7 separate regions of the Homo sapiens genome follow, and regions 1, 2, 3, 4, 6 and 7 are each linked to region 5. Evidence: promoter capture Hi-C in 16 types of primary human blood cells and fetal thymus (Javierre and others, 2016). All regions are on one chromosome and are shown on one strand. Each heading gives the region's core, a stretch centred on a gene start or on the middle of the fragment in contact. The rest is flanking DNA. Distances are from core to core; before and after follow the strand shown. Region 1 overlaps APPL2 (adaptor protein, phosphotyrosine interacting with PH domain and leucine zipper 2). Region 2 overlaps EEA1 (early endosome antigen 1). Region 3 overlaps WASHC4 (WASH complex subunit 4). Region 4 overlaps WASHC4 (WASH complex subunit 4). Region 5 holds the start of SLC25A3 (solute carrier family 25 member 3). Region 6 overlaps WASHC4 (WASH complex subunit 4). Region 7 overlaps LOC105369947 (a long non-coding RNA gene).

Region 1 (2,921 bases), core at 271-2,770, 6.6 Mb after region 5:
GCTGAACCATTTTATATTCCCACCAGCAATGGGTTCCAGTTTCTTCACATCCTTGCTAAACGCTTATTTTCCATTAAATATATATATCATATATATATCATATATATCATATATATGATATCGATATCATATATATCATATATATGATATATCATATATATATCATATATCATATCATATATCATATCATATATATATCATATATATCATATATATATAAACATCTGTGAGACAGTGTGCATGCGTGCGCACGCCATCTTAATATGGAGTGACATATCTCATTGTGGATTTGTTTTGCATTTCCCTAGTAACACATAGCATCTTTTCATGTCCTCATTGGCCATTTGTATATGATCTTTGGAAAAATGTCTATTTCAAGTCCTTGGTCCATTTTTTAATTGGGTTGTCTTTCTGTTGAGTTTTATAAGAGTTCTTTGTATATTTTGTGTACTACATCCATATTAGATAGAATTTGTGAATACTTTTTTCCCATTCTGTAGTTTTTCTTTTCACTTTGATGTGCTGTGGTTTTTCACAGTACTTTTACATATATTTTCCTTTGATCTTTTTGGTGGAAATTATTCCAGGACCAATAGGATTATAAGAACCATGAGCCCATTTCTGTAAAAGGTCCAGGACATAGTGAAAGAACAGGTTTTATTAATAAGAACTTAATTCTCAGATAAGGTTCATAATAAATGAAAAGGATGGGCTTAATGAATGGAAGAAGCTATATCCTAATTTTTGCTATAGTCCTAGTTACCTTTTTTGAAGCTAACGTTCATTGAGCACTTTTCATGTGCCAGTGAGTTGTAAATGTCTTACATATATTAGCACATTTATTCCTCATGACATTTATTCCTCATGACAACAGTGGAGGGTGTGAATAGTTACTTTCATTTTACAGCTGAAAAAACTGAGGTACAGAGGCTCAAAAATTTGCTTAAGGTCACATAACTAAGAAATGCCGAAGCCAGGAATAAACTGAGACATTCTGGCTCTAAAGCAGTGCTGTCCCTTAGAAATGTAATGGAAGCCTTATATGTCATCGAAGTTTTTCCAGCGGCCACATTAAGTGAAAAGTAACAGATAAAATTAATTTTACTTAATCCAGTATATCTAAAATATTACCAGACATGTGATTAACCTAAAAAATTAGTGAGATGTTTTACATCCTAAATCTTAGAAATTTGGTATGTATTTAACACTGAAAACACATCTCAGTTCAGGCTAGTTTTGCTGCAGATGCTACCTGTGGCTACAGTATCATACACCCATGTTCATAACCAGGATTTTGGTCATATCTGAAACCCAGATCGTATTACCTGAAACACTAAATCATGTAGTTAATATGGCCTGCTCTCTCTGTGATGGCCAAGTTATTTAGGCAGATTTTTAAGTTTTTTTCCATTATTTTTTATAAATAGTACTCTCAGAAATGAAAAAAAAAAAGCAAAACCAAAAAACTTCCATTTTCAAGCTCTGAGCTATAATATAGAGAATAAGTCTAGTGTGATGGCATCTTTGTGAACAACAGTATTCACTCACCACTGGATTTTTGAAGATACCAGTTCTTGTCTCTAAGGGAGCACTTTCTAGGCTATCTATCTTATGTAAAAAGTAGTGGGGGCAAAAGCAAGAGTAGTCTCTTCATTCCAGTACTAACATTTCAGATGGGTGCATTAGCCTTAAAAGGGGAATTAGCTGAAGCCATAAGAAAGTCTGAAAATAAAACTGAACGTACCTCAAAGATTGACTGGTGACCATCAGATGGGATTCTGTCATGCGGAAGATGTTATGAATAGCCCGAGCAGCCAATACTTGTCTCATCGCTTCATAAATCACTTCAGTAGTGCTGTCTGTTTTAACTGCCATTGATCCCAAAAACCGAACTATAAACATCTGCTGCAAAAGAGAATCTGGAAGACAGCATTTTCCACTCAGGATCTCATTTACTTCCTGCTGCTGTTGATCTGCATACCAGGGTCAGATGTGCTAGTTTTGCCTGCTTTCTGTGGAGGACTTTCTACCAAAATTTCTCAATACCACTTTTATAAGCCCAATATTGCCAAAGCTCTGCGTCTTCCATTTGTCTACATCTTGTCAGTTTGTTTGGAACTACTTCATTAGACTAGAAAGGCTTTTCTTCATCTATAAAATGAAATGATGGTGGTACCAGATGAACATCCTTCTAATGCTGAAACTCTAGGTGACTACATTGTACCTTTTCTCTGAAAAGAGTGAGTTCACTAGACAATAGAAAATTCATTACTTTGGCCCACTGATAAAGTCCTCTTAGAAAAGAAATTTTATTTGCAGGATATAAGATCTCATGTTGGGTCTCATGCAATTCATACTTCATGTGTATTACGGAAAGGCAGTGATGATGTTTCATAGCCTAAAGGAAGTCAGTCCTGGCTGCTGACAGTGGCGCATAACTTGACAAAACTGACTCCCAGCAACCATAACTAGAAGACCAAAGAAGGTTTTTTCTTTTTTTTCTTTTTTGAGACAGGGTCTCACTCTGTAGCCCAGGCTGGAGTGCAATGGCATGATTTCAGCTCACTGCAACCTCCGCCTCCCAGGTTCAAGTGATTCTCATGTCTCAGCCTCCTGAGTAGCTAGGATTACAGGCACCTGTCACTACACCTGGCTAATTTTTGTATATATATATATATTTTTGTAGAGACAGGGTTCTCACTGTGTTGCCCATGCTGGTCTTGAACTCCTAAGCTCACGTGATTCACCTGCCTCGGCCTCCAAAAGTGCTGGGATTACAGGCGTGAGCCAGCGTGCCGGCCATCAGATACGTTCTTAAGTACATTATAAGAATGTAAAAAACCAAAAATTTGAATTTGAAAGACTTAAATATCATTTGTGTCATCTTCAAATTCAAGAACAAGTTATTTGTGCTTTTGGTT
Region 2 (2,895 bases), core at 152-2,651, 5.7 Mb before region 5:
TTTCAAGCCTCAGAGAAACACCTTAGTAAGCTAATGAAAAAGGAGGAGCAGGAGGAGGGACAAAAGCAGGAGAACCAGAAACCAAATTTCCGTAAAGTATCCTGAGACTTATTGATGATGTTCAAACACTTTGAGTTCTAATTGATGGTAAGCAGTTTGTCTGTTTCTTCTTTTAAAAAATGCTATTTAAAGGAAACTATTCAGAAGAAAATAAGAATAGTTAAAATGAAAAGTTCATCTAAAAACAAAATGCTAAAGGAATGCCACATAATTTTTTTTTTTTTTTTAGACGGAGTTCCGGTCTTGTTGCTCAGGCTGGAGTGCAATGGAGCAATCTCAGCTCACTGCAATCTCCACCTCCCGGGTTCAAGTGATTCTCCTACCTCAGCCTCCTGAGTCGCTGGGATTATAGGCATGCACCACCACTCCCGGCTAATTTTGTATTTTTAGTAGAGTCAGGGTTTCTCCATGTTGGTCAGGCTGGTCTCGAACTCCCGACCTCAGGTGATCCGCCCGTCTCGGCCTCCCAAAGTGCTGGGATTACAGGAATGAGCCACTGCACCCAGCCAAGGAATGCCACATAATTTCAAAGCACAGAGTCCATTTCAAATAAATCTCTAAATTAACAATAGCTTTAATCTTATAGCTTAATATCTGTGCTGAGAAATAAGATTAGCAGGGAGGGGTAAAATAGGTTGCCATGTTACACAATTTAAAGATTCAAGTTATACTTGTTGGTAAATACCACTTGTAGAGTTAATAAAATATATATTCTACCTTCTAAACTAGTAAATCACCAGATTTAAGACATTTATCAAAATGTCCCTATTAAATACTCAGCATTAACACTGACCCAACTACAAGATAAAAGCTGAACTCCTTCAAAGGGACTCTTACGTCCTCTCACAATTTGGTCTCTAGCCACCACGGTAGCTTCATCTCTTACTAATTGCTACAGACCATCTCACTTCCTAAGCTTCATTGTTCACACTCCTCACAGTACTACCTGCGCCTTTTATGACTCCATCTCTTTGCATTTGCTGTTCCCTCTGCCTGACATGCCCTTCCCTCTTCTGAGCTGTGAATATGCCCCCGTCCCTGAAGCTTTTCCTAATTGCCCTCACCTCCCACAGAGTGCCTCCTGGGTCCTCTGTCCTCTTCATTATTCTATTACATAGCACTGTCATTACTTTTAAATGTTCACCTCCCAAACAGCCTGTGAGTTCTAAAGGGAGGACCCACAGCTTAATCAACTGTTTCCTACCCCTTAGCATGAAGCCTGGCATTTACTGAAACTCAATATAAATACACTGAATAAAAGAAAATTAAGTACTTAACTGTGAGAAACACTTCAAACTTTCCTACTAAAGAGTTAATGCATTTAACACAGTGATTCTCAACCAGAGGCAATTTTGCCCCTAGGGGACATTTGGTAAAATCTGGAGCTATTTTTGGTTGTCACAAGGGGGAAGGGATATAGGGGAATGCTACTGGCATCTAGTGGGGGTAGATGCCAGGGATGCTGCTAACATCTTACAAGGCACAGGGCAGCCTCCCACAACGCAGAATTATCCAGTCACAAATGCCAATAGCGCCGACGTTAAGAAACTCAGTTGTCAACTGACTTATTCAGAAGTGATGATTCAATATCACATCTCTGCAATAACCACAATCAATTTCACTTTTGTAGTTTCAACAGAAGCTTCTTTAACAGTTGATAGGTATGCACCAACATTAAAAATGATCTTCATATAATCTCGATGTTTAACTTTAAACCAAGATTACTAGAAAGCATCCCATATTTCTGAAAACCAATCTATAACTACAGCTGAGCTACCCTTAAACCAGTAAACACTTTTATTTGTAAACTTCAAAGCAAACCACAGGCAAACTAATTTTCACTTGCAGAACTATGACAGAAACACAATCTGAAACATGAGGTAATCAGTTCCTCCAGGTCTGATAAAAGAAAAATCTCCTAAAGCCTGAAAGTAAATCATGCACAGATGTCTTTACTGCTGAACTAAGGAAGTGATGGGGAAAGTAAAGGACATGCCCTTGTTACTGCCAAAATCATCGCTTACCGGGATTTCAAAATTCACAAAACACTGCAAAATACAATTAAATGTCAACACAGGTTGTCAGATAAAGAAGTTAACTATTTCTCCCTCTAATAACTGACCAAGTTTCACATGACTTCATTCTTTCAGGAGAAAGCTAGGCAGAAGCAAGAGCACTCCCTTCCTATCTACTGGATGACTCAACTCTCTTCCGCACATTCCTCGGCTGAATCCTACAAATTCACTAATTTCTTTTGTCCTTTGAACTAGTTATCCTACTCCCTCGGTAAAGAACTAATAGGCTCGGCACCTACTTTTCAATCATTTACATTTTGTTACACCCTATCAGCCTCAAAAAGAAAAGAAAAAAGCTATACCAAAAAAAAAAAACAAATTTAAGTTGACAGGTACAATAACTCTTACAGGAAAAGAGATGTGAATTATGTTATTCTAGTAACTGATTCTTAAATGATACACCTACAGTTTTCTAATGCTCTAATCTTTCTATCCTCAAGGTTTTCCAGATTTCAGAGACAGCACAGGCAGAAACTAAGTGTATATACCACTTGATCAAGCTTACTGCGGATTTATTCTTGGATAGCTAAAATAAGGTAGTGGGGCTTGCACAGAAAACATATTTTTAATTAAAAAAAAAGTTTCCAACAGTGAGTAACATCTTCCTTCTCGGCTGACTGTGCCAGTGTCAGTCCCACGCCTGGGCCCAGGCTAGGCCGGGGCTCACCACACCACCCTCCACTGTGGTCCAAAGGAGAAAGCAGGGCCGTGTGTGGCAGGTGCGCATCGTGTCAAATTGGGGGGCACGGGGAGTGCGGCG
Region 3 (2,700 bases), core at 80-2,579, 6.5 Mb after region 5:
TGGTGTGATCTCGGCTCACTGCAACCTCCGCCTCCTGGGTTCATGTGATTTTCCTTCCTCAGCCTCCCGAGTAGCTGGGATTACAGGCACCCACCACCACGCCCGGCTAATTTTTGTATTTTTAGTAGAGACTGGGTTTCACCACGTCAGTCAGGCTGGTCTCGAACTCCTGACCTTGTGATCTGCCTGCTTCAGCCTCCCAAACTGCTGGGATTACAGGCGTGAGCCACCGCGCCAACGCCTGGCTAATTTTTGTATTTTTAGTAGAGACGAGGTTTCATTATGTTGGGCAGGCTGGTCTTGAACTCCTGACCTCAGGTGATCCGCCACCTCGGCCTTCCAAAGTGCTGGGATTATAGGCGTGAGCCATCACACCAGGCCTCTTTTTAAAATTGTTTTTATTTTTTATTTTTAAACTTTTAAGTTCAGGATACAAGTGCAGGTTTGTTACATAGGTAACCATGTGTCATGGGGGTTTGTTGTGCAGATTACTTCATAACCCAGGTATATTCCATGGAATTTTTATTGGTCAGATCATAGCTGGTGTTTGGTGGTGCCATGTTTTGAGAGGGTCACAAACTGCAGCATCCCTAGATGCAGCTGATCAGGATGTCAGAAGGTCTGAGAACCATGCCTTCTTGTTTGTCTTCTCTTTGTTAGTGTCTGTATAGTTTGGCCTTTAAAAGAGAAATCTGTGGAATGATGTGGTGGGTTTCTTTAAATATTTGAGGGACATTCAGAATGAAGAGGGAACAGATTTGATCTCTGTGGCTCCAGTAGGCTAAACTAAAACCAAAAGGTGAAGATGACAGATAGTAATGATAATAATTGCCAACATCATGAAGCTCTCAACTCTATGGCAGGCATTATGCTAATAGCTTTAAACATACCATGTTCCATAAAGCATGTAACAGCCTTCCGGCAGAAAATAATAAATGTAACAATTAATGTTTATGGAGTGCTTACTATATGCTAGTAGGTATTCCAGGAACTTGACACATACCTCCTGTAATGATCAGAAAATTGTATGAGGTAGATACTTTTGTTGCCATTTTGTAGATGAGAAAACCCTACAGAGATTAAACTTGCCCAAGTTTAAACAACTAGTAGGTGGCAGATGCAGGCAGTTCAACTCTACAGCCCAGGCTGTTAACTACTACTATAAACCATTTTTATCCCATTTTTAGATAAAATGAGTCTTAGAGAAATGAACTTTGCCAGGTCACACAGCTAAGTACATGTCAGAGAGGGCATTCAAACCAGTGCCAATCCTATTCTGGTGCCTCTGCAGCAGGTAGCATTGTGTAGGCTGCTCTGTAGTCTCCTTCACTAAAGCTGTGTAGGCAGAATATAGATAACTGTCAGTCCAAGATCTGTGGGAAGTGAGTCTTACTAAGTGGACAGTTGAATAAGTTGACTTTCAAAGACTTATCACATGATGAGATTTTGTTTCTAAATTCTTTACTACAGAGCTCCATGAAGATGAAGGGCACAGTTATTTTTTTCAGTCTCTTAGCAGTTATGTCAAGGAAACCTAAAATTCACTCCACTAAAGTGAAACTCAGAGGGATGATGTGATCAGCAGGGCTTTGTCCTGACATTTTAGAGAAAGTTGAGGGGTTGTCTAAGAGGTGTCCCAAGGTCAGGCTTCAGAGTTTATGTAAGTGAGTAGGGAGCAATGGAGAGCAATGAGCAACAGTATTCCTGCCCCCATACTATACACCAGACCCCAAGTGGCCAGTGTCCCAGCTGCCTCCTTGACTGGGGTCCAAGGTTTGTGGATTTTTGCATTTTGCTTTTGATTCACAACCACTTTAACACTGGAAAATACTGCCTTTAGAGGACAGAGGTCTGAATCTTTGTTTCAACCCCCCATGTTGACATATAGGCGTTGACACTGTTTAGTGCTTTATGTTGGGGCAGGAGATTTGTTTTTTTACCTTGGTATTTTTCCTGTTTGTACTTTGAAATGCAACTGACAATCCAATAGGACACTTCACGATTTTTGTACTCTTTGTCAGTTAACTTGCTTTTTAAAACTTGAAGCAGTTTTGTTTTTATATATTTATTTATTTATTTATTTTTTTTTTTTTTTGAGACGGAGTCTCGCTCTGTCTCCCAGGTTGGACTGCGGACTGCAGTGGCGCAATCTCGGCTCACTGCAAGCTCCGCTTCCCGGGTTCACGCCATTCTCCTGCCTCAGCCTCCCGAGTAGCTGGGACTACAGGCGCCCGCCACCGCGCCCGGCTAATTTTTTGTATTTTTAGTAGAGACGGGGTTTCACCTTGTTAGCCAGGATGGTCTCGATCTCCTGACCTCATGATCCACCCGCCTCGGCCTCCCAAAGTGCTGGGATTACAGGCGTGAGCCACCGCGCCCGGCCTGTTTTTATATATTTATAAGAGGTAAAGATCATCAGTCATCTGGATGTGATCACAGAGTGATGGGCAGAAGTGACATAAAAGCCTCTGCATTATCCTATAGCCTTACCTAAAGCTGGCTGAATGCTGTTCACTGTGTATTATTGCCTTCTTCATAGTGTTATTGACACAGTTGCTCATCAGGGAGAGTTCCATAGTCTAGCCTAGGTCTCTTTCTGTGGTCCTTGCTTATGACTTTTCTGTTCTCTCCTGTACATGGGATTCCTGCTGAGTCTTGATCACAACCTCCTCCTCAAAAGTGAAGGTGTTGCTCTAGGAC
Region 4 (2,822 bases), core at 62-2,561, 6.6 Mb after region 5:
TGGTATTTTGCCATAATAAGTATTTTTGGTTTTTATTTCAAATTTTTAAATTTACTTAGGAATTTGAATTGCTGTATTTCTCACTGAGCAGTGCAAGAATTTTCTTCAGAGCAGACAAGACTGCGGCTGAAGAAAACCAAGAAAAGAAAGAGAAGGAAGGTCAGTGAGTGGTTTAAATTTGGAAAGACCAATAAATGTCTTTAGTAATAGACAGTAATGCACCATTTTATCTGGTCAGACATCTAGCTTCTTTGTCCTTTTGGAAAATAACACAGACCTAGCATTAAGTCTTTTAAAAAAAGTAAAGCCTGTATAGATCTTGTGTGAAATTGAAAAGGAATTTATGTAGTTTATGCATTTCACACTTGGTAACCCTTTAAAACCTTGTTCAGGATCATCTGCTTTTAATTTAAATACACTTTTCACAAGTTTGGTTTTTCTTTCATGGCTCAAACTATTAGATTTGAAGGAACAAATAGAGGAGGACAGCTAAATGTTGCTGAAGGCAGAGCTGCTGATGACTAGATGTTGACTGAATGAGATGGGACAGATGATTAAAGAACTGTAAAATCATAGGGGCTATTTAGTTGTAGTAAATAGCATCCTGCCTTCTTTCATAGTCAGGCCCTGGAGACTCAGGCAATATAGCCATAATAACTGATAGTGATTTCAATGAACTTCAGTCATTAAGGAAAGGATTCTGTCCATTGTATTCTATGTAGGATGGTGGAAAGGAATCTATACTTTTTAAGGCGTAAGAGCATTGTTCAGTGTTTCATATTTAATGTCCCCATGATATATTTCTCTCAGATTTGAAATTTAGGAATAATCATCTTCTCTGAGAAACAGATGTTTCCCTTTTTCTGTCATGGATATTATATAGCATACATTTCTCATTGCTTGGAAGATCAAAACTAGATACAGCGACTAGTTAACCCTTATAATTTTCATGTTTACTAGTCTCCTTTTTGTCTTACTCGTGCTTCATGAAGTTTTCATAAATCAAGATATAAAGCTCTTCATAAAACAAGATGTTTTTATTAATCTTATTTTATGTTAATTTTTAAAATACACCTTTTTTCTTTATATAGAGTAGAGGTGACTCATTGGGTAGACCACTTACGTGAACTACCTTATTTCTTGACATTGTTGCATAAATTAAATATTACTAATATTACTTATTAATTAGGTGCATATCCAGGCGTTTTTTGAATCTAGACTAAATAAACATGCTTGAAAAAATTGTTTCAGCTTATTAATCTGGAAGACACTCAATATTAAATGAAAATTTATACATACTACATTTGTGTTCATTTTCAAGGATAAATTAGCAAAGCCATTTGGAAGAATTTGAATCAATATAATCTAAATTATGAAGAAACTCAGTTATTGCCTCAGTTCTGCTCATGTGTTTCATGATGCCAGAACCTTTTCCCCAGCCCAGGTGACTGGGAAAACTCTGCGGGGCGATTGGACATTTGCTTTCAGGCTAAAGCATTAAAACAAAACAAACAACCCTTCAGTCTCATGGCAGTGGGATTCCTTGCTTTGGCCTATTCCTCTTAAGGAACTCTCCAGAGTTGCAGTTGTTATGTTATCACTCACATCACTGTTCTAAGACTATTTCAGCTAAAGATTGCTCAGAGATATAGTCAGTTTCTGAATACATTACTCAAATAGTCTTTGTCTGTTAATGAAATATGCACACATGACATTTTGCACAAAAAGCCAGGAATTCATTCTGTCAAAAACAGTGAAAAGCTGTTTCATTTAAAATTATTTTAAGAAATAATATATATTACGTATAATTTATTATAATAAGTTATAAATACAAATGGAAAGTTATTCATTCTGGACAGTTTTGATATGTGAGTTTGCAGCCATGTTCCTACCAGGAATGACAATGTACTGTAATGGTTCTTTCTTGGCCCAGCTGGAGGAACTGGCGTGAGGGGAGCGGGCCTTTCTTAGACCAGGAATATCAAGATTCCTCAGGACAAAGGAGCCCATGTGGTTTGAAGCCCCACCCCAATACAGGTTCTGAGCTCCCTCAACTCCACCTTCATTAAAAACCAGTGGAAACAATTGCAGTGTTTAGCCTAGATTTTTAAAAATTTTAAAGTGTAAACAAGGTATAATTTGTGATGTTAGAGAAACATTTGATGGATGCAACTGTAATTTGAAGTTTGGCAATACAGCTCTTCTCAAATTTCTTTTACTTCTTAATTTATTGTTTAAAAATGAACATAAATATCCATTATTATTTTCACTCATGCTTTCAGAAGAAACTAAAACAAGCAATGGAGACCTGTCTGACAGCACTGTGTCTGCTGATCCTGTTGTGAAATGATACGGATGGTATTCACTGCACATATGATGAAATCATCAGAATTGTTAAAACTTTTGCCAGTGGAATGGATAAACTATTGATGAATTGTTTCCTGGGTCACATCTCTGGAAAATAGATGTTACAGTTCTTAAAGGCAGTGCTTTAAAGTGAAGTTCATTCTGTTTCCAAAGGCTCTACTTTCAAAGGTTAAGAATGAGATTTTAAAATTGGATTTTTGCCTGGACTTGAGGGTACAAGATGTTTCTATTTGAAGTGAAGTTATAAAAGGGCAAATCCAGATTCATAAACTATCACCTCGGATTTCTTGTAATCTACATGTTTGTAATTTGTATTTGCATAGATCTTTGATCTATAGTTATTTCAAGTCATGGGAAATTCAATGCATATACTATATACAGCCAGTAAATACATGCTTAACAAAAGGAATGAGCCTGAAGTTCATAAAGAATACATATCAATATTCTTATAAAAG
Region 5 (2,747 bases), core at 95-2,594:
GTATTACTCCCATCCAGAACCAGACACCTGATTTGCAGGGTCCAGTGCAAACTAAAAAAAGCGTGGCCCCTTGTTCATACATGTATTAAGAATTTCAAGCCGGGCATGGTGGCTCAGGCCTGTAATCCCAGCACATTGGGAGGCCGAGGTGGGCGGATCACCTGAGCTCAGGAGTTCGAGACCAGACTGGCCAACGTGACGAAACTCTGTCTCTACTAAAAATAGAAAACTTAGCCGGGCGTGGTTGTGCACGCCTGTAGTCCCAGCTACTCCGGGGGCTGAGACAGGAGAATCGCTTGAACCCGGGAGGCGGAGGTTGCGGTGAGCTGAGATCGCCCCACTGCACTCCAGCCTGGGCGACAGAGCAAGACTCCATCTCAAAAGAAAAAAAAAAAAAATCAAAATGACAGCAGAGCATTAAATGAAGTGTAAGGCCATGTGTGACTGTACCAGTGTGAACCTATGAGGCCAGTCCCACCCCTATCTTACATCTAGGGAACAGGTACACAGAGATGAAGTAAATTCCCAAGGTTACTTTGTCAAGAGCTTGGAAAATATAAGAGTCAGAAGTCTAACAGGTTGAATCCCTATTAAACTCTCCCCAACTAAACTACGCCCCTCCCTGTTGAGCTGAATCTAATGAAAGCTTCCTAAATGTATTAACCACACACACGCACAATCTGCTATCAGTCACTTTCAGTAGTTCATCGCTGTAACATCTCAGGAGTTCAATGTTTCAACGTGTTCTGTAGATTACTGTGATAACGCGGCAAGCTGTCGTAAGACTTCTTGCTGCACATTTCTTTTTAAAATATTCTCCAGGAGTCTGATGAAAAATACAGACATACCTATGTTTAATGTCAATGGATGGAACTTATTTTAAAAAGTACTGTAATGGCAGAAGTTGTGACACAAAGTACTGCAGTGATGTTGTAACTCCAACACCTAAATATATTATCAAGCATTCGCGTTTTGTTTTGTTTTTTAAGTGACTACTAGATACTGTGATTCACTTAAGTGAAGCGAACTGAAGCCCGTGGTCAAGGAGAGACACCTGAAGGTGAAGGGACAAAGCGAGCAGGGTAAGAGCTCGAGCCCGACCCCTCTCAAAAAATATAGACCCGGAACGCGCGCCTGCGCAGAACGAATCCTCCCGCGCACAAGCCGGGCGGAAGAGCTGGGGCGGGCAGGGGCGGGAATAAGGTTGCTAGGAGAACGCGATGACGCTACGGGCTCGGCGCTCTTCTCCACCAATGGGCGACGCGTACTTGCAGTGGCGCGCTGTGTGCGTCACGCCGACGACGCGCGAAGGGCACACATCTTAGGACCCGGAGGACGTCCGGCCTCTGTGAGCCGCAACCTTTCCAAGGGAGTGGTTGTGTGATCGCCATCTTAGGGAGTGAGTGTGGCCGGGCCTTCTCCTGTGGCGGGTGTGGGGAGCGGAGCCCAGAGCTCCTGTGGGGCCGCTGCTTTGGCGGTGGGCCCAGCCGGGAGCAGCCTCTTTCGAAGGCCGCCGTGACCTCTTCAAGGGCGTGGAGACGGGAAGGAAAAGGCCCCGGTTGGGGTTCCAGGGCGCCGGTAACGTTAACCGGCGCCTTGCCTGTCCTCTAACCGTCGCTCCCTCCTCCCCTAGAAAGATGTTCTCGTCCGTGGCGCACCTGGCGCGGGCGAACCCCTTCAACACGCCACATCTGCAGCTGGTGCACGATGGTCTCGGGGACCTCCGCAGCAGCTCCCCAGGGCCCACGGGCCAGCCCCGCCGCCCTCGCAACCTGGCAGCCGCCGCCGTGGAAGGTGAGATCAGACCCTGCCCAATACAGTCGTGTGGTCTACTTGTGGGCCGCCCAGCCTTTGAGGCCTGGACCCGGCTTGGAGGACAGGGAAGGACGAGTCCAGCCCGCTGCACCGTAGGACGGCGCCCAGTTGCTTGCCCTGGGGTATCGGCCTTTTCCACCATAGGCGGGTGTCAGATCCTTGGCCTTCCCTCAAGGGCGTGGAAGCGCTGAGGCCCTGTGTCCCTTCGTGACCTCCGTGTGCCCGAGGGAAGAGAGGCCGTGACTAGCTCTTTCTCCGCCGTGAGCTCGCTTGGTCAGCAAACTAAGTACTGGGTAAACTCTCCTCCCGAAACTACTGACCACCCACAGTTCTACTAACTATATTACCTGTCCTTTGATTTGCCCTTAGTTTTCTTAAAAATAGTCCTTTCCTAAGTTTTATATTTGTCGACGCCAGGTCAGTCATTTTTGCACTTAATTGTATATGAGATAACTAGATGTCCTGTTTTCGTGCGACTGGAGGAGGCAGCTTGCAGCCCTACATAGGCAATAGAAAGGAGATAATTGGTGGGCGTCCCTTTGGTGTGATTATCTCTTGGGATTCTTGGTGGTTGGGCCCAGCTTTAACTTAGTTGTGTGTGTTTTAAATCCTAGTGAAGTATGTACATACAGAGAAACCTGAAAACCGAATTGTAGGAGTCCTAAGAATGTTATCTACCTTGTGCCTGTAAAATCGAAAGATTTTTTTCTTTAAATCATTCATGTGCTTCTGTTGTCTTTAGTATGGATAGAGTCCTTATTTACACTATCTGTCGTTCAGTTTAAAAGTTAAAGCTAACATTATTTGTGTATTAAATGTATTTGACTGCAGGAATTTGTGCGTATCCGTTTTTATGTTACAGGAGTTCTTAAGTGGGGATAGTATTGGTTAGTGGCTGGGATAAACTTTGAAGTTGTTTGCAAGCCTTTTAC
Region 6 (2,924 bases), core at 383-2,882, 6.6 Mb after region 5:
GGAACGTGGTTTTCTCATAGAATATTGCGGTAAACATACACTACTAGTTTATATTTTACATGAATTTCCATTTTTTTTCTGGTTAGTAATTAAAATGTCTGGTCCTAAAATTGTGTTGGATGTGATGGGAGCTGTGATACAAAAGACACTTTAGGGTAGATTACCATCTCAGAGCCATCATTATAAATAGTGCTAGATATTTGAGGACATCAGCACATTAATATATGTGTGTGCACACATATATATATGTTTATCTGTGTTGATCTGTGATCCCTGAAAGTTTACTTTTGAAAGTCAACAATAGATAGTAATTTACTTAATGTTATTTATGCCCTTTTTGGGGCAGGGTTTGCTAATTATTTGATGTCCATATAAATAGGAACTTACTAAAAATATATTGAATCTTCTTAGAAATGGGCATTCACCGCTTGGCGTGGTGGCTCACGCTTGTAATCCCAGCACTTTGGGAGGCTGAAGCAGGAGGATCACCTGAGGTTGGGAGTTCAAGACCAGCCTGACCAACATGGAGAAACCCCATCTCTACTAAAAATACAAAATTAGCCAGGCGTGGTGGCGGGCGCCTGTAATCCCAGCTGCTTGGGAGGCTGAGGCAGGAGAATCGCTTGAACCTGGGAGGCAGAGGTTGCAGTGAGCTGAGATTGCGCCATTGCACTCCAGCTTGGGCAGCAAGAGCGAAACTCCATCTCAAAAAAAAAAAAACAAACAAAAACGAAATGGGCATTCACTTGAAGGAATTATTTGAACTCGTATGCTATTTTTCTGTCTGTGGAAAAAGAGAAGTCTTTGAATTTACCTGGTTTTCAGAGCACAGTTAATTTCTCCTTTAGGGGAGAAGACTGAATGCTTAAGTAGTACAGTATTATTAAACACATTTGGAGTAGGGAATTGGGAGAAAATGGAAAGTTAAGTTGGGATCATTTAAGTATACAGTGGAAAAGCATTGAAGATTTTGAGCCAATGAGTGATATGATTGGAGCTCCATTATAGTGGGGTTATCAATATAGAAATGAAACATACAATTTTAAATTCCAAATGAAGAGTCATCCATGTAATGATCATGTTTGTACCTTTGAGGATAAATAAAACTGAACTTTTGAGAGTAAACTCTTCCTTGACTTCTATCATCTATCAAATATTCATGTAACAGATGTGAATGTATTTTATGTGTCAGGGACTGTGCTGGGCACTAGTGTGAGAAAAACACATTTCCTGCTTTCACAGTAATCACAGGGATATAGATGTTCATCAGTTAATTACACTAATGAATGTAGATTACTGATGTCTGTTGATGAAATGAGCATAGAAGGATAGAAATCAGGATGGCAGAATAGTTACCCACTATTAAGAGTGGAAAGGATTAAAAACAAAAGACTGTTAAAGAGATTTTTTTAAAAATGCAAAGAAACAGAAAAAACAAGGAGAGAGTACAATGTTTAAGCTACAAGATAAGTTCCCGAAAATCATTTGTTTCCATAATTGGGTAAATGAATACTGAGTAAAACGGGCACAAATTTGTCAAAATCATTAGTAATACTTGAGAGTTAGTGGGGTTGGAAATGAATTTAGGGTTTTCATTTGTAGGTTGGAATTAATCTTATGCTATTTCTGCCTGTAGGTTGGAATTAATCTTTTGCTATTTCCATCTGTAGGTTAGAATTAATTTTACTGTGCTATTTTGACTTTAATCTCAGCTCATACCTCACTTTCTTAGGATTTTCTGAGTCAAGGGCTTTTTGTTATTTATTGTCAAAGCACACATGTACTTAACATTCTGAGAAATTATTACAGTAGAGATTTAATAATTTATTTAACAATACTTGTTTAAAATGTTTGTCACCTGTTCTAGAATATAAACTTCGTGAAGACAAGGACCATGTCTAGCATGGGAGAAGGCACGTTGCCTTGTGTGTAAGAGGTGATTAGAAATATTTATGGATAGATAATTGAATATGTGGTATCTTCAGGAAGGTTCAGAGAACACCATGTTTCTTACTTTAGTATCATTCTAGACCTGTAGATTAGCAATAAGTAATCTTACTGATGGAGGAACATAGAAACTTCTCACTGGACCATGGCTTAAAAACTAGAGTCTTGAGTCTGGTTTTGTGATTCTCACTACAGCCCTTAGTCCTATCATGAGAATATTTTCCACTTTTTTCTTTTCTTTTTTCTTTTTTAGTAAAAATATGTAAGAGGAGCTTATAGAAAGTTTTGTGAACTTCAGCAATAAAAAATGTTATTTAAATATTTTCAGGTCCAATATGAAATAGACTTTTTAAATAGTACTTTATAGGTAGTACAAATAGATAACTGTGATACAGTAAAATTTATTTGAATTGATTTGAATTAATTTTTATATTAACTTTTTTCAACTTTTTGAATTTTAATTTTATAGGTTAATTTCACCTACCAGTTTTTGAAAAAGAAGTTCTATATATTTAGCCAATTTATGTATGATGAACACATCAAATCCAGATTGATTAAAGATATTCGATTTTTCAGGGAAATTAAGGACCAAAATGATCATAAGGTAGGCTACCTATTCTTTTTAAGGTATTTGATTAAGCTATTGAGTATATGGCAAATGTGTATGCTAAAATTCATTATTTAGATCTCTATTGGGGTTTTAGTTTTATTTTCCCTATAATTTCTTACTCTGCATTATCTGTAGGCTTAAGGTAAGGAAAAAATTAAATCATAAATGTAGCCAGGTGATACTTTTTCTTTATTTTAAAATAATATAAAAGCAGGACATGCTTATTTTGAAACATTTAAGCAATATAGAATGGATAAACTGAATATCCACCTTCATTTCTCTTTCCATTCCATTTTCTGGAGGCAGTTGCTAACAATGTAGTGTGATGGCTTTCAGATATCTTTGTATATAAACATGTATATTTACA
Region 7 (2,870 bases), core at 42-2,541, 5.5 Mb after region 5:
CAACAAAAAGATACTGATTGTTCTTTGGTCATAGTGACAAGAAACAACCAGAATCTGTTTTAATCAATCAATAACAATCTCCTGATCAGTGACTTGCTTCTGAAAATTAGCCAATCAGCAACAGCCACACTCTAGTAATCCTTCTTCCACATCTAAAGTTCAACTCATCTCTAAACAGTCCAGCTTCTAAGAGTTCCCCAACCTCCGAACCCCATGCTTCCCAAAACACTGTATAAGATTCACAGATTCCTTTGTTCAGAGACACTGTCTTACAAGTACTGCTGTCCTCTGGTTAGCAAGAAATATGTTCAGCACTTAATTGTTGCAGACGTGAATGGTGGCCTCTTCACTGGGCAACAACCTATGGGATCTTTGATCTATTCCCTTTCCGCTCCCCCTCTACCCTCATCTCCTCCTACCTTTTCCTTTGCTAATTGCACTCCTTGCAGTCCTTATTTCTGCCAGGAATGCTCCTGCCTCAGGGGCTCTGCACTGGCTGTTCCATCTGCCTAGTACATTCTCCCTCAGATAGCCACATAGCTCACTCCCTCACCTCCTTCCATGTCTTAATGGGGCCAGCCCTGATCACTTATCTAAAAATTGCAATTCCAACTCCCTACCCCCACTCAGCTATAACCCTCTAACATATTATATAGTTTCCTTATTTGTTATGTTTATGATTTATTGTCTGTCTCTTCCCACTAAAATGTAAGCCCTATGAGGACAAGGAATTTGGCTTGTTTTGTTTACCAATGCATCCCACACATCTAAAATAGTGTCCAGCATTCAGTTGGTACTCAATATTTGTTGAATGAATGGACTTTGAATGTTTCACCTTTTTAGAATATAAACTCCTTTAGTGCAAAGACCTTGTGTTCACCATTGTATTCTCAGAGCCTAAAACAGTGCCTGGCACATAGTAGGGGCTTCATAAGTATGTACTAAATGAATGCATGCACAGGTATGGTATAAAATTGTTTTAATTGATAATATAAATGACCCTGAGATTACCAAAGCCTTATGTGCCATCTTCCTCCACAGAAACACAGTTAATGAACACATTTAAAATTCCTCACATTATTATGATGTGTTAATCAAAAAATCCAAAACATATTCATCACTATTTCCCCAGGTATTGGGTAAGTTAATATACAAAGATGACTAAAAAATCCTTGATCAGCTTGAAAAAGCAGCAAGATCACTCTCGTTTCTAGGGCTGCTGAGGCTGAGGACAGGAGGAAATCCTTGTCTCTGATAGGAAAGAAGGGCAGAGAACATTCTTTTCTCATTTCCTTTATTTTTTTGCTTAAACTCTTGGGTCATTTCCAAACTGGTGTCCCTGTCCATTTAATATAACATGGCCATATTAATCTTCCTGAAAACTTGTTTTCTTAATCCTACATATGAATGCCAGGTCATAGAAAACATAGTTCTTATTGTGTTGTTACCTTTTAAAAAAATCATGAAAACAGCTCTCATCTATTATATAGTTACTACATATCAGGAACTCTGCTAAATGCTACCTGCATGTTTTCTCATTTCAGCCACACAATGACCTTATGAAATAGGTGTTATTTGCCCAACTCAAAAGACATGAAAACAAGCTCATAGTTTAAGAAACCAAGAAGTCACACAGCTGGAAACCAAGCCTCAAACCTGGCCCCAGTCCCTCTTATAAAAAAAAAAAAAAACTATTTATTCAAAGGGTCCCCATAGACTTTTCTCTAAAGAAGATACACAGATGGCCAACAAGCATATGCCAAGATGTTCAACATCATTAGTCATAAGGGAAATTCAAATCAAACCACAGTGAGATATCACTGCACACCCACCTAGATGGCCAGAATCAGAAAGATCGATAGTAACAAGTGTTGTCAAGGATATGGTGAAACTGGAACCTTCACACACTGCTGGTGGGAATGTAAAGTGGTACAGCCACTGTGGAAAACAGTCTGGTTGTTCCTCAAATAGCTAAACATAAAAGTTACCATTTGACCCAGCAATTCCACTCCTGGTGTATGCCCAAGATAAATGAAAATATATATCCATACAAAAACATATACATTTATGGCAGCTTTCTTCTTTTATTTTTATTTATTTATTTATTTCGAGACAGAGTTTCGCTCTTGTTGCCTAGGCTGAAGTGCAATGGCACGGTCTCAGCTCACTGCAACCTCCACCTCACAGCTTCAAGTGATTCACCTGCCTCAGCCTCCCAAGTAGCTGGGCAAATATGATATATCAATGCAATGGAATATCATTTGGCCATAAAAACAAATGAAGCTCTAATATATGCTACAACATGGATTAACCTTGAAATCATTATCTAAGTAAAAGGAGTCAGACACAAAGGACCACAGATTATATGATTTCATTTATATTAAATATCTAGAATAGTCAAATCCATAGAGAGAGAAGGCAGATTATTCTTTGGTGGGGGGCTAAGGGAGGAGATGGGAGAGCCCGAGGTGTGATAGCTAAAAGGTATAGAGTTTCTCTGTGAGGTGATGAAAATGTTCTAAAATTGTGAGGGCCGGGCACAATGGCTCACACCTGTAATGCCAACATTTTGGGAGGCTGAGGCAGGCAGATCACTTGAGGTCAGGAGTTCGAGACCAGCCTGGCCAACATGGTGAAATCTGATCTCTACTAAAAATACACAGATTAGACGGGTATGGCAGCAGGTGCCTGTAATCCCAGCTACTTAGGAGGCTAAGTCAGGAGAATTGCTTGAGCCTGGGAGGTGGAGGTTGCAGTGAGCCAAGATTGCACCACTGCACTCCAGCCTGGGCAACAGAATGAGACTCCATCTCAAAAAATAATAAGAAAATTTTTAAAAAATTGTGAGGATGGTTGCACAAATCTGCGAG

Evidence for each region. The method cuts DNA at HindIII sites, captures the fragments that hold promoters and counts their contacts. A CHiCAGO score of 5 or more calls a contact.
Region 1: a fragment that was not itself captured here is called in contact with the fragment with the promoter of SLC25A3 in region 5 in 1 of 17 cell types (neutrophils); the score reaches 6.7 in neutrophils.
Region 2: a contact is called between a fragment that was not itself captured here and the fragment with the promoter of SLC25A3 in region 5, in 1 of 17 cell types (total CD4 T cells). The highest score is 6.5, in total CD4 T cells.
Region 3: a fragment that was not itself captured here is called in contact with the fragment with the promoter of SLC25A3 in region 5 in 1 of 17 cell types (neutrophils); the score reaches 13.7 in neutrophils.
Region 4: a fragment that was not itself captured here is called in contact with the fragment with the promoter of SLC25A3 in region 5 in 1 of 17 cell types (neutrophils); the score reaches 9.9 in neutrophils.
Region 6: a fragment that was not itself captured here is called in contact with the fragment with the promoter of SLC25A3 in region 5 in 1 of 17 cell types (neutrophils); the score reaches 6.1 in neutrophils.
Region 7: a contact is called between a fragment that was not itself captured here and the fragment with the promoter of SLC25A3 in region 5, in 1 of 17 cell types (neutrophils). The highest score is 5.7, in neutrophils.

What each region holds. Positions count from the first base shown.
Region 1 is chr12:105,186,529-105,189,449 of GRCh38, forward strand. It overlaps APPL2 (adaptor protein, phosphotyrosine interacting with PH domain and leucine zipper 2), which reads right to left. Exons shown (of 21, transcript NM_018171.5): 17 at 1,745-1,919. Among named protein-coding and RNA genes, the nearest start is that of APPL2, 48 kb to the right of the region's middle. The HindIII fragment of the contact is 6,846 bases long and covers 1-2,921 here.
Region 2 is chr12:92,925,725-92,928,619 of GRCh38, forward strand. The region is part of intron 1 of EEA1 (early endosome antigen 1); the gene reads right to left. Among named protein-coding and RNA genes, the nearest start is that of EEA1, 2.1 kb to the right of the region's middle. RefSeq lists an enhancer at 1,731-1,860. The HindIII fragment of the contact is 598 bases long and covers 1,103-1,700 here.
Region 3 is chr12:105,129,003-105,131,702 of GRCh38, forward strand. All of the region lies in intron 13 of WASHC4 (WASH complex subunit 4), which reads left to right. Among named protein-coding and RNA genes, the nearest start is that of WASHC4, 23 kb to the left of the region's middle. The HindIII fragment of the contact is 4,632 bases long and covers 1-2,700 here.
Region 4 is chr12:105,164,582-105,167,403 of GRCh38, forward strand. WASHC4 (WASH complex subunit 4) reads left to right here. Exons shown (of 33, transcript NM_015275.3): 32 at 60-159; 33 at 2,283-2,822. The coding sequence ends at 2,350. Among named protein-coding and RNA genes, the nearest start is that of WASHC4, 58 kb to the left of the region's middle. The HindIII fragment of the contact is 3,528 bases long and covers 1-2,822 here.
Region 5 is chr12:98,592,342-98,595,088 of GRCh38, forward strand. SLC25A3 (solute carrier family 25 member 3) reads left to right here and starts at 1,345. Exons shown (of 8, transcript NM_002635.4): 1 at 1,345-1,399; 2 at 1,634-1,794. The coding sequence starts at 1,638. RefSeq lists enhancers at 867-1,086, 1,135-1,759, 1,337-1,436, 1,760-2,384. The HindIII fragment of the contact is 3,126 bases long and covers 645-2,747 here.
Region 6 is chr12:105,147,199-105,150,122 of GRCh38, forward strand. It overlaps WASHC4 (WASH complex subunit 4), which reads left to right. Exons shown (of 33, transcript NM_015275.3): 25 at 2,417-2,551. Among named protein-coding and RNA genes, the nearest start is that of WASHC4, 41 kb to the left of the region's middle. The HindIII fragment of the contact is 9,694 bases long and covers 1-2,924 here.
Region 7 is chr12:104,142,286-104,145,155 of GRCh38, forward strand. All of the region lies in intron 1 of LOC105369947 (a long non-coding RNA gene), which reads left to right. Among named protein-coding and RNA genes, the nearest start is that of NFYB, 5.5 kb to the left of the region's middle. The HindIII fragment of the contact is 3,300 bases long and covers 1-2,870 here.